Linked DNA regions of Homo sapiens: region 2 is linked to region 1. Evidence: promoter capture Hi-C in 16 types of primary human blood cells and fetal thymus (Javierre and others, 2016). All regions are on one chromosome and are shown on one strand. Each heading gives the region's core, a stretch centred on a gene start or on the middle of the fragment in contact. The rest is flanking DNA. Distances are from core to core; before and after follow the strand shown.

Region 1 (5,818 bases), core at 2,237-4,736:
CCCCTGCTGGCTGATCGTGGTCCAGTCACTGCCTGTACCACAGGGGTCACCCTCACCTCTTTAGTCTGTGAAGAGCACGCCTGAATTGGGGTGGGCATGGGGAAGTGGTGGGTGGGCTTGGAGGCAGCTGCTGGCCGCACTACTGTCCCAGAGTGCCCTCTGCACCGCCAGAGCTCCTGTCAGTCAGTTGGCAAATCTCCCCATCTCTCCGGGCCCACTCCAGGACAGGGTTTAGCAAGGGGTTCCAGTACCTCTGTGAGAGGTGGGTAAACTGAGATATTTGGAACATTTGTTCATCCAGCATTTATTGAATGCCTGTGGTGTACCAGGTCCTGGGAAAATGTAGCTGTGGAAGAGCAGAACATTCCTCCCTCCTGTGATGGCTGACATTCATAGGAAGGCGGACACACGGAAGACGCCAGGTAACAAGAGCCCAGAAGAAGGCCGGCGTGGCCGGGCTTTCCTGCCTTAGTCCACAGGCTCCTCAGAAGTCAGGGCCCATATCTTCCCCGCATTCTCCTTGGCTGGGGGAAGGGAGAGGTAAGTGGCTGCCTGAGAGGGCTCTGGGACATGGCGTGTGCCAGCCTGCAGCACACTGGGCTGCAGCTCAGACATCAGAGCTTTGGGAGCTGAAGCAGTAGGACCCAGACCCCCAGCCCTGGCTCTCCAGGCCCCCGAGGCCCTGCCCAGATCCTGCCTGCTAGGCTGACTCCTGAAGGGCACAAAGCTCAGGTTGGGATGTGGGAGAGAGAGGGAAGTGCCAGGCATGGTGTGGCCTGTTCTTACCGCCAACTGCTGCCCACCCTCCCTCCCTCCACCCCCAACTCCCTGCCCACCTTCCTGCCTCCTGTTCACCCCATGCCTTGCTCCTGGTCTCGGTGTGCCTGGGAGGGCTCTGGCTGGTCCTGAAGAGTGCCTACTGGGGGCTAGGCAGTTGTTATAGGTTTGAGGGTGGGCCTGTGGGTGAGTCCTGGGGCACTGTTGTTCCCAAGCCAGCAGGGACATGCCCAGAATCAGAGCTCAGGCAGTCACCATCCTGGCCCTAGCCTTCATCTGGGTCCTGATGAGGGAGTGAGGATGGCTCTGTGCACCCTGTCCCTGCTGCAGGACCACGTTTGCCCTGTGTGTGACAGGAGGGGCCCAAGCCACTGCCTTGACTCTGCCACACACAGGTGGAGGAAGGTGGCACTATGTGGCTCTGGCTGGCTGCATGAGCCTGCCCATCCCAGATCACAGACCTGGACACTGAGGCCCAGGATGCTCTTGTCACTGGCTTACCCCCATTTGGGCCAACGTTGGGTGGTTTCCAAGGGGTGGTAATTGTGTGAGGATGAAAGAAATGAGATGGGAGAGAGGGCCCTGTATATGTCCTCTGCTCTGGCCCTCTGCTTCCCTCATGATGAACACAAGGAAATTGGTCTTGTTGGCGGTGTCTGTGGGTGGCTGGGGCTCCCGTGTGACTTCCAGAGCCCGTTGTCCTGAGGGTCGGCAGGCCTGGGTGGTGGGGCCTCCCCGGGGCCCCTCTGTGTGGCCCTCTGGCTGTCTTCTCCTCTTGTGGTATTTCTGGCTCGTCTCCACTGACCATCCCCCCACCCCTTTCTTTCTCAATACTGTTGCCAAACATTTGGAAGAAAAGTGAAAAACTTGCCCCCCCGCCAGTCCCGGATGTTGTCAGATTTCCAGATGTGGGTGTTCTGCCCTCCAGATGAGAGGCAGAACGTGTTCCAGTCAGGAGCGGGCTGGCCCCAGCCCTGGACTGCTGTCCCTCCCTGTGAGGCGGAGTGACAGGATGAGAGGGACTGGGCCCAGTAGGAAGACAGCAGGGCGTGCCAGGTAGAGGCCCTGGGCCCCACAGCACCTCTCAGCCTCAGGCTTAGCCCCTTGCCACACCAGGGAAATCCCTGGCTTTGAAGTTTCTATCAAAGGCTCCAGGCACTTAAAAGTAACCAGGAGCACCTCCTTCCCACCCCCCAGGCACAGATGCTGGGCAAGGAACAGAGCCCAATGTGTTTACAAGATGTCCCCACTGTTGGCGTCCCCATGCGGGAAGAGCCTTGTGCCACCTCAGCCCTCCCACCTCCCCAAGTGGCAGTCCCGTCAGGCTGTACTCTGTCACTGTCATCTGCTGAAGGCTGGGCTTGGGATGGACCCTGGGGGCCGGGCACTGCAGGATGGGCACTGGGGGTGGGCACTGAGTGGTAGGAACAGGGAATGAGCATCACTGCACTGGGGCAGACCCTGCTTGGCAGCTTGGGGTTCCTCAGAGAGGCAGACCCTCTCAGAGCCCCTGCCAAAAGGGTCGGCAGAGGGCAACATGTGGCAGTGGAATAGCATTGGAGAGAGCTTTCTGGAAGAGGGCCAGTAGAGCCAAGCCTTGAATATGTCAGGCAGAGGGGGCGAGGGCACTCTGGGCAGAGGGTGCAGTGGGGAGCCAGGCCTGGGGTGTGTAGGGAAATGTGCATCCCTGGGGCCTGTAGAGAGGGGAAGTAGGAATCTAGGGGTGAAAGCTGAGAAACTGGTCCCTGGGCCAGCAGGGGCTGAAGAGGGAGGCTGCTGAACTGGCCTGGGGCGACTGCCCTAGAGGGAGCAGCATCCTTTCTCTTGCCCTTTGTGGGGGTTCCTGGAGACCCTTGGACCCATAGCCAGGGCTACAGCTGCCTGCCATGACCAGACACTCACATACAGACACATGTAAACACCCAGACATAAACACACAGAAGCAACACCCGCAGACACACTCACATAGACACATAGACACACCACGCACACATAAAGACCCAGACCCACAGAGACAAATGCAGACACCCGGGCCATCCCTTACATAGACACAGATACGGAGCACACATAGGCACGCACAGAGCCCCCCACCACGGAGGCACCCAGACAATACACACAGGTGTACACAGACCCCCCTCCACACAAACACAGACACAGAGAGACCCACAGACACATAGACACCCCGACACAGACACAGACAACACACACAGACACATGCTGACTTCCGCCTTCCCCCACATGGACACGGTCATAGACACAGACACAGACACAGGGGACTTTGGAGAGCTTAAGTTCAGAGGTGCCCTTAGATCATCCCAGTCCTTCTGGCCCCAACACAACACGTAGCATGTACTTGGTCCACCCTTCTTCACCTCTTCAACTTACGGACCTGCAGAGAGGCAGCAGGGCCCTGTGTGGGTATGTGCGGGTGTGCAGATGAGTGTGTGTGTATGTGTGTATGTGTGTGTTAAGCAGTGGCCTTTGTCCCCCTCTCTCCCTCCCCCTTCCCAACAGGTGATTGGGAGGAATGGAGATCCCTCCTCCACTACCCATTCCTGAGCCTGAACAATGCCCTCCCCAGGCCCCAAAATAGCCCCTAAGCCTAGCCATATCCTTTTATGGCCCTGTCCCTATTGTGCACTGCAGGGGTGGGGCTGGGGTCATGAGGTATCCGGGCAGGATAAAGGCCTGGGTGAGGCGGCTCACCTACCCTGCTTTCTGCATTCTTCTCTCCACATCCCTCTCTGTACTTACAGCCCCCAATGGCCCCCAAAAAGCCAGAGCCCAAGAAGGATGATGCCAAGGCAGCCCCCAAGGCAGCTCCAGCTCCCGCACCTCCCCCTGAGCCTGAGCGCCCTAAGGAGGTCGAGTTTGATGCTTCCAAGATCAAGGTGGGTATGGAAGCTGGGTGGTGGCAATAGGAGCAGGGCAAGTGAGTGGATCCCAGAGTGGACCTAGCAAGAGGCAGGTCAGGCTCTGGAGGTGAGCACTGAGCTGACGCTGGAAGCTTCTGTGCAGAGGTCAGACAAGCCCTGACTGCTTCAGGCATCAGAAGGGCTGCAGCAGGAGGGATGGTGGTCAGACGTTCTGCAGGACTCCTCTGGTGCTGCTGAGAACTAAGGTGGAGTCTAGACTGGGGTTTGAGTCTGGACTGTCTTTTTAGTGGTTTTGGAAATGGACTCTCCCTTGCCCTTCTTCCTGGACTTCTCATCCTTGGGGAATCCTGGAGTCAGCTGGAGCCAGGCAGGGATTTTCCTTGTTCAGCTGAGGGGTCCCAAGTCCATACACGCTCCCAGCGTGGATGAGATAGGGAGTAAGAAGAAGCAGGGCCCCTGTCCAGGCTGGGTCTCGTTCAAATCACCGAGCCCAGAGCTGGTAGAGCACTTCCAGGCCTCAGCTTTTAGGTAGGGAACTTGAAGCATCAGCTGGCTGGGGACATTCTGAAAGCTGTGCAGGAAGCTGGTCATGGAGCTATGACCAGTGGCCCCAGGAGCCCTTCCCCAACTGCAAAGTCTTTCTCAGAGTCTAAACTTGGAGGGAGCCATGACTCCCACCTGTGGTATCTGCATAGCAGCACGTACCCTGTGTCCTGCCTGCTCCCTGTTCTTGGCTGGGACCACTGCTGCCCTGGCTGCCTCCTCAGGAGCCCTGTGGAACCCTCGCCATCCCTGCATGCCCAGCAGGACCTACATTCCATCGGTGAAGTCTTGCCTCCTGTTCATGAGCCCTTCCCAGAGACACCTACCATGTCCTTTGAGGCAAGGGTTCAAATCCCAACTCTGCTCCATTTTAGTTGCCAAGTTCTTCGCTGCTCTGAGGCGTGGTTTCCTCAGCTGTGAAACAGAACAGCAAGTCCCCTCTTGCAGGGCTGCTGGGAACCATTCAGAGTATATGCACCTGGAGTTGGCCACCCAGGTCCCAGGCTTGCATTCTGCAGGCCTCATGGTGAGGCTGTGACCACAGCCACGGCCCATAGTGGCATTGTCCTTTCTCGCCAGGCCTTAGGTTGGCACAGACTTCCTTCTGAGAGGTGGGGACAATGAGACCCCTCATGCGCCCTCTTCCCCCATCCCCAGGTTGCAGGTAAAGGGCAGGGAGCCTTTGCCAGGAGCCCAGAGACCCTAATCTCAGTAGGCTTCCTGGTGGAGAGAGCTCTCAGGGAGCCAGGAATGACAACCTGTTCTTCCCAACACTGGGTCAAGCCAGAAGCCAGGAGGGACAGTCATGGTAGGGTGGCCCTGAACAGGGTGTCCCTCTGTGCCGGCATGCACTGTGGAGATTGGTGGGGCTCCGTGGCAGCAGCCATGAGAGAGACGCCAGTCATGCCCCTCCCCCAACCTCCTTTCCCTTGTGTGACCTTGACCTTGGGGCGAGTGACTGCAGTGATAAAAATAGACCTGGTATCCGGTGAGGAGGGGGACACTGGATCCCGGGAGGCCTCTTGATTGACGTCAATCAAGGTGGCCCCAATGTGACTTCAGCAAACACTCAGCAGCACTGCCCTGGCCCTGTGCTGTCCTGGGGTGTGGGAGCTTCCCAGGGACCTACGGACAGGGTGTGTGAGAAATAGGTATAGTGGGGCTGGTGAGTGACTGCCTGGTCTTTAGGGCTTAGGGGGCTCTGTGAGGGCAGACGTATGTAGACACATGCTCACACACAAACATGCACACTTGTGCTCACCCTCGATGCTTCCAGCCACCAGCCCTCGGCCTGTACCATTGCCCTTACTCCTTCTACCACCCTGGGCCCTCCCATCTCACTTTTGCTGACAGTCCTGCCCACCAGGCCCCAAGCAAAGCCAGCCTGACTGGGGCTTGTGGCTTAAGGTACATCTGTCCAGAACCGGGAGCATCAGGTAAGGCCCACGCTGGCCTGAGGCCTTGGGCATGTGGCCTCCCTCCTCACTGCTACCCCTGCCAGGGTCCACCGAGCATCAGGGCCTCGGTGCACACAGCCTCAAGGCCTTCTGGCTGGAGAGGTGGAGGGGGGCAAGGAGGCAGGAGGGCGTCAAGATGGACTGCAGGAGGTCCTGGGGGTGCAG
Region 2 (5,818 bases), core at 2,158-4,657, 510 kb before region 1:
GCAGGAGAATCGCTGAACCCGGGAAGCGGAGGTCGCGGTGAGCCAAGATTTGTGCCATTGCACTCCAGCCTGGGCAACAAAGAGCGAAACTCTGTCTCAAAAAAAAAAAAGAAAAATTGTAAACTTTGTTAGGTATATTTTACCACAGTTTAAAAAAAATAAAATATAAGACCTTGCAAATAATTTATTTAAAGAGAAAGAAAAATTTTGCCAGTTCTTCCAGCATCTTAGAAGAGCTTGTTTCTGGAAGACTTTTTTTTCTTTGAGACAGAGTCTTGCTCTGTTTGCCCAGGCCAGAGTGCAATGGTGTGATGTCGGCTCACTGCAGCCTTGGCCTCCTGAGCTCACTCAATTCTCCAACCTCAGCCTCCCTAGTGGCTGGAGTACAGGCGTGTGCCACCAGGCCTGGCTAATTTTTTCTTGTATTTTTTGTAGAGATGGGTTTTTGCCATGTTGCCCAGGCTGGTCTTGAACTCCTAGGCTCAAGCAATCTGCCTGTCTCAGCCTCCCAAAGTGCTGGGATTACAGACAAGAGCCACTGCGCCCAGCCTGGAAGACCATCTTGAGGTCACCTGGACAGAGATAGAGAAATTTTGGGCAAAGCTGGGCATGGTGGCTCACGCCTGTAATCCCAGCACTTTTGGAGGCCAAGGCGGGCGGATCACTTGAGGTCAGGAGTTCAAGACCAACCTGGCTAATATAGTGAAACTCCACCTCTACTAAAAATACAAAAATTAGCTGGGTGTGGTGGCGTGTGGCTGTAGTCCCAGCTACTAGGGAGGCTGAGGCAAGACAATCGCTTGAACCTGGGAGGTGGAGGTTGCAGTGAGCCAAGATTGCACGACTGCACTCCAGCCTGGGTGACAGAGCAAGACTCTGTCTCAAAACAAACACAAGAAAGAAAGTATGGGAAGGCCTACAACCTGCAAAACTGCCCGAACACAATTTGTAGTAAGTAAAATACAAAAGCATAAAGCAGCCTACCTTGGGGCTTTCTGATGGTGAGGCAGTGGTCAGCCATGAGGGAGCTGCAAGACCTAGGCACAACAGCTGAGTCCAGAGCAGGCTGGGAATTGGGAGACTACATCATAGCATTACTGAGCAAAGAAGCAGGCGGCTGCTTGGCCACAGGACACAGACAGCCCAGGACCCAAACTTGAGGCCAGCAAGGGGTCAGGATTAAGCTGTTGCAGTTCAGTATGGGCTGGAACAGGAAGTGAGAGAGGAAGGGGAGAAGTAGGAAGCCCTAAATTGGGCCTTGCAAGACAGAGAAGACCTATAGAGATGGGCATTCCAGGCAGGTGGAATTGCAGATGCAAGAGGGAGCTCTGGCGAGGCTCCAGGATTCAGGAGAGCTGGGCAGATGGGTCCCTATCTCATGAGCTTCCTACAGTGATAGCTTTGGCCCTACTGCCTTTCCTTCCCCTGGCCTCTACTCCCGAGGTGGAATGGGAACACCTTGTCCCCACATGGTGCTTCTGGAGTTGAACTACAACAAAAGAAATAAAGTATTCTGTGAGTTCCAGGGTGTATTCATTTGCTAGAGTGGCCATAGGAAAGTACCACATACTGAGTAGGTTAAGCAGAAATGTATTTCCTCACAGTTCTGGAGGCTAGAGGTCTGAGATAAGGTATTAGTAGAGTTGGTTTCTTCTGAGGCCTCTCTCTTTGGCTTGTTAATGGCCATCTTATCCCTGGGCCTGGTGACCCTGCCTTTAAACTCAGTCACATTCTGAGGTACTGGAGGTTAGGACTTCAAACATGAAATGAGGAGTAATGGAGGGGGCACATTTAGCCCATAACACAGGGTCACAGTGACATGAAGGGCAATTGGTGTGAAAGGCATCAAAGACCAAGAGGACCTTCACAGGCCTTGAATGCTGAGGGCGGGGATGGGTTGGTGGAGGTGAGACAGCAGAAAGGGTGACTCCGGGGCAGGGAGTGCCCTCCTAACATGTATTTCCAGGCAGGGTTGGGAGTTAGAAGCCTAAGACTTGATGGTCCTGGGGAAGAGTCTGCCTCATCACGAGGGGGCAGCACACCCTTTTCTCAAGACAGCCTCCCCATCACACCCAGCAGAGTTGGATGGGCCCTTAAAAACACACACACCCTTCCCCATTTTACCAATGTAGAAACCCAGGCCTGGACTGGGGAGGGGACCACCCAAAGTCTCAACAAGTGAATATACATGAGTCTGGGCTGCACTTTGGGAGGCAGAGGCAGAGGCAAACAGATCACCTGAGGTCAGGAGTTCAAGATCAGCTTTGCCAACATGGTGAAACTCCATCTCTACTAAAAAATACAAACATTAGCCAGGCATGGTGGCGGGCACCTGTAATCCCAGCTACTTGGGAGGCTGAGGCAGGGGAATCGCTTGTACCCGGGAGGCAGAGGTTGCAGTGAGCTGAGATCATGCCACTGCACTCCAGACTGGGGACAGAGCGAGACTCTGTCTCAAAAAAAAAAAAAAAAAAAAAAAAAAAAGAGTCTGGGCTGGGCATGAGTCTCATCTCTCTCAGTTCTTTTATTCAACAAATATTTATTCAACACCCACAGTGTCCTAGACATTTGTTCTAGGTGCTGTTGATCAAAACAGGTAAAGAGCTCTGCCCACATGAGGTCCCATTTTAGGGAGGGACATAGACATTAACACAATAAAGAATAGACAGTATGTTAGATGGCAACAACTGTTGTGGTTGGAAGAAAATCAAACGGAGAGGAAGGTGGGAGTATAGGTAGGGGACAATGCAATTTTATATTGGGTGGTCAGGGGAGGCTTCACTGAGAAGATACTATTTGAGCGGAGATCTGAACGAAGTGAAGGAGCAAGACAGGGCATAACTAGGGGAAGTATGTTTCAGAAAGGGGGAACAGCAAATGCAAAGTTCTTGAACCAGGACTGTGTCTGGCATACCTGAAGAACAGCAGGGAGGCCAGAGTGTCTGCGGTCGAGTGAGTGTGTAGAATAGAGGAGATGGAGTCACAGAGGCAATGAGGAGGGGTGAGGTGAGGGGTTGCAGATGGAGTGGGGTGGTTGCAGATGGAGTTGGGTCTCGAAGACCATGATGAGGACGTGGGTTTTCTTTGGACAAGCTGGGGAACCATGGGGAGGGTTTGAATAGACCTAGGGATATGATCTGGCCTAAGTTTGTTTAAGGGTTACATAGACTGAGTAGGGGATTAGAGGAAGAGCCCTACCAAGGATTCCTAAGACAACACTCTGGGCTCTGTAGAGGGGAGAGTGGAGACAGGAGGACTGTGTCACTCAGATCTAGCTTTCAGGGTCGTCATAGTCAGATCTTGGTCTGGACACACGCAAGAGACATGAAGGAGACTTTTGAAAGGAACATACCCTTGTGGTTTGCGGTATTCAGGCCAGTCAAGGGGGCCAGATCACCCCCACAGAATGGGGTGGGGATAGTGTGAAACCAGAGGGGACAGAGAGCCTAATGGGGCTAGTGAGGAGGGAAGGTTTCCTGGAACCTGGAAGAGGAGATGTGATCCATAGGCTCAGTGCAATTCCTGCCAAACTCCCAAGTTTTTTTGTGAGAAAGTTGGCATACTGTTTTTCAAATTTATATGGAAAAGCAAAGACCGCAGAAGAGCCTAGACAATCTATCTCTCTTTTTTTTTTTATTTTTTTGAGAGACAAGGTCTTGGTCTGTTGCCCAGGCTGGAGTGCAGTGGCATGATCCTAGCTCACTGCAGCCTGAAACTCCTAGGCTGAAGTACTCCACTGGTCTCAGCCTCCTAAGTAGCTAGGACTACAGGTGTGTGCCACCATGCCTGGCTAATTTTTAAATTTTTTATGGAGAAGGGTCTTGCTATGTTGCCCAGGCTGTTCTCAAACTCTGGCCTTCAGTAATCCTCCTGCCTTAGCTTCCCAAAGTACTGGGATTATAGACATGAGCTACTGTGCCCAGCCACTAGACAGTCTTGAAGAGAAACAAAATGAGCAGACTTGTTTTACCAGATATCTAGGCCTGCTAGAAAGCTGAGTAATTGGGACAGTGTGGGTGTTTGTTCAGGAATGCAACATTAGACCCTCAGAACTGAACAGAAAACCCAGAAATAGACCCAAGGCATCCACATCTACTTAATGGACTCAGAGGTAGTATTGCAGGCCAGTGAGGAAGGATGGCTACTGAATAAATGATGCAGGCTAACTGGTCATCCATATGAAAAAAACAAAAAACAAAAAAACAAATTGGAGTCTGTTACAGGTTGAATTGTTCCCCTTAAAAGATATATTGAAGCCTTGGCATCCCCCACCAGTATCTGTGAATATGGCCTTATTTGGAAATAAGGTCTTTGTAGATATAATCAAATTAAGGTGAGGTCATACTGGATTAAGTAGGTTCTAATCAGGCCAAGCACAGTGGGGCTCACGCCTGTAATCCCAGCACTTTGGGAGGCCAAGGTGGGTGGATCACAAGGTCAGGAGTTCAAGACCAGCCTGGCCAAGATGGTGAAACCCCGTCTCTACTAAAAATACAAAAACTAGCCGGGCATGGTCGCAGGCGCCTGTAATCCCAGCTACTTGGGAGGCTGAGGCAGGAGAATCACTTGAACACGGGAGACAGAGGTTGCACTGAGCTGAGATTGTGCCACTGCACTCCAGCCTAGGCTACAAGAGAGACTCCGTCACAAAACAAACAAACAACCAAAAGCCAACTAATAGATGTATGAGGTATGAGGAAGGATAAAATTAGAAAATCACTATTTGGCAGCCATATTAATAATTCGACAAAAATCATCAATGGACATAAAAACCAGTAGACTTGAGAAATAAACTAATAGGGTAATTACACAGTCCATGGTATCTCCCCTAGATACTTAATAATCACAAAGGGAAAAACAGTAGCTTTATATGGAGAAACTTAGTAGACCTCATCTTACTCACGTGATGAAGTTTAATGTCACCAGCAATGAGAGAAATCTAGATCATGTGCCTTCTGGTATGATGCTCTGAGGACACAGTACCCAAAACGCATTACCTTAATCTAATCACGAAGAAACATTAGATAATCCCAAATTGAAGGACATCCTATAAAAGAACTGGTCTATCATCTCCAAAAAGTCAGTCTTATGAAACACAAAGAAATACTATTCTAGATTAAAGTATAAAGAAACATAGACATAACCTCTTTAGCATACTAAAGAAGTGTAACACATGATATGGGATGTTCTTTTTGTTCTGAGGAAGCGGTCCCCAAACTTTTTGGGACCAGGGACCGCTTTCATGGAAGACGATTTTTCCGTGGATGAGGGGCAGGGGATGGTTTCAGGATGAAGCTGTTCCACCTCAGATCATCTCTCATAAGGAGCACACAACCTAGATCCCTCACCTGTGCAGTTCACAGCAGGATTTGCACTCCTATGAGAATCTAATGCAGCTGATCTGACAGGAGGTGGAGCTCAGGTGGTAATGCTTGCCACCCACCACTCACCTCGGCTCCAAGGGACATTACTAGTATGAGTGATGAAATCTGAATAAAGTCTGTAGATTAGATAATGGTAGTGTTTCAGTGTTAATTTCCTGAATTTGACAGTTGTTCTGTGGTAATGTTTACATATAGGATAATGTTCTTGTTTTTAAGAAATATACACCAGGCCAGGTGCAGTGGCTCACATCTGTAATCCCAGCACTTTGGGAGGCCAAGGCAGGCAGATCACTTGAGGTCAGGAGTTCGAGACCAGCCTGGCCAACATGGTGAAACCCCATCTCTTCTAAAAATACAAAAATTAGTCAGGTGTGGTGGTGTGTGCCTGTAATCCCGGCTACTCAGGAGGCTGAGGCAGGATAATCACTTGAACC

Evidence for each region. Contacts are between HindIII fragments. The CHiCAGO score rates a contact against its expected background, and 5 or more counts as called.
Region 2: a contact is called between a fragment that was not itself captured here and the fragment with the promoter of MYL3 in region 1, in 1 of 17 cell types (total B cells). The highest score is 5.2, in total B cells.

What each region holds. Positions count from the first base shown.
Region 1 is chr3:46,861,112-46,866,929 of GRCh38, reverse strand. MYL3 (myosin light chain 3) reads left to right here and starts at 3,486. Exons shown (of 7, transcript NM_000258.3): 1 at 3,486-3,668. The coding sequence starts at 3,540. The HindIII fragment of the contact is 15,359 bases long and covers 1-3,786 here.
Region 2 is chr3:47,372,803-47,378,620 of GRCh38, reverse strand. No RefSeq gene overlaps it. Among named protein-coding and RNA genes, the nearest start is that of PTPN23, 5.3 kb to the left of the region's middle. The HindIII fragment of the contact is 9,184 bases long and covers 1-5,818 here.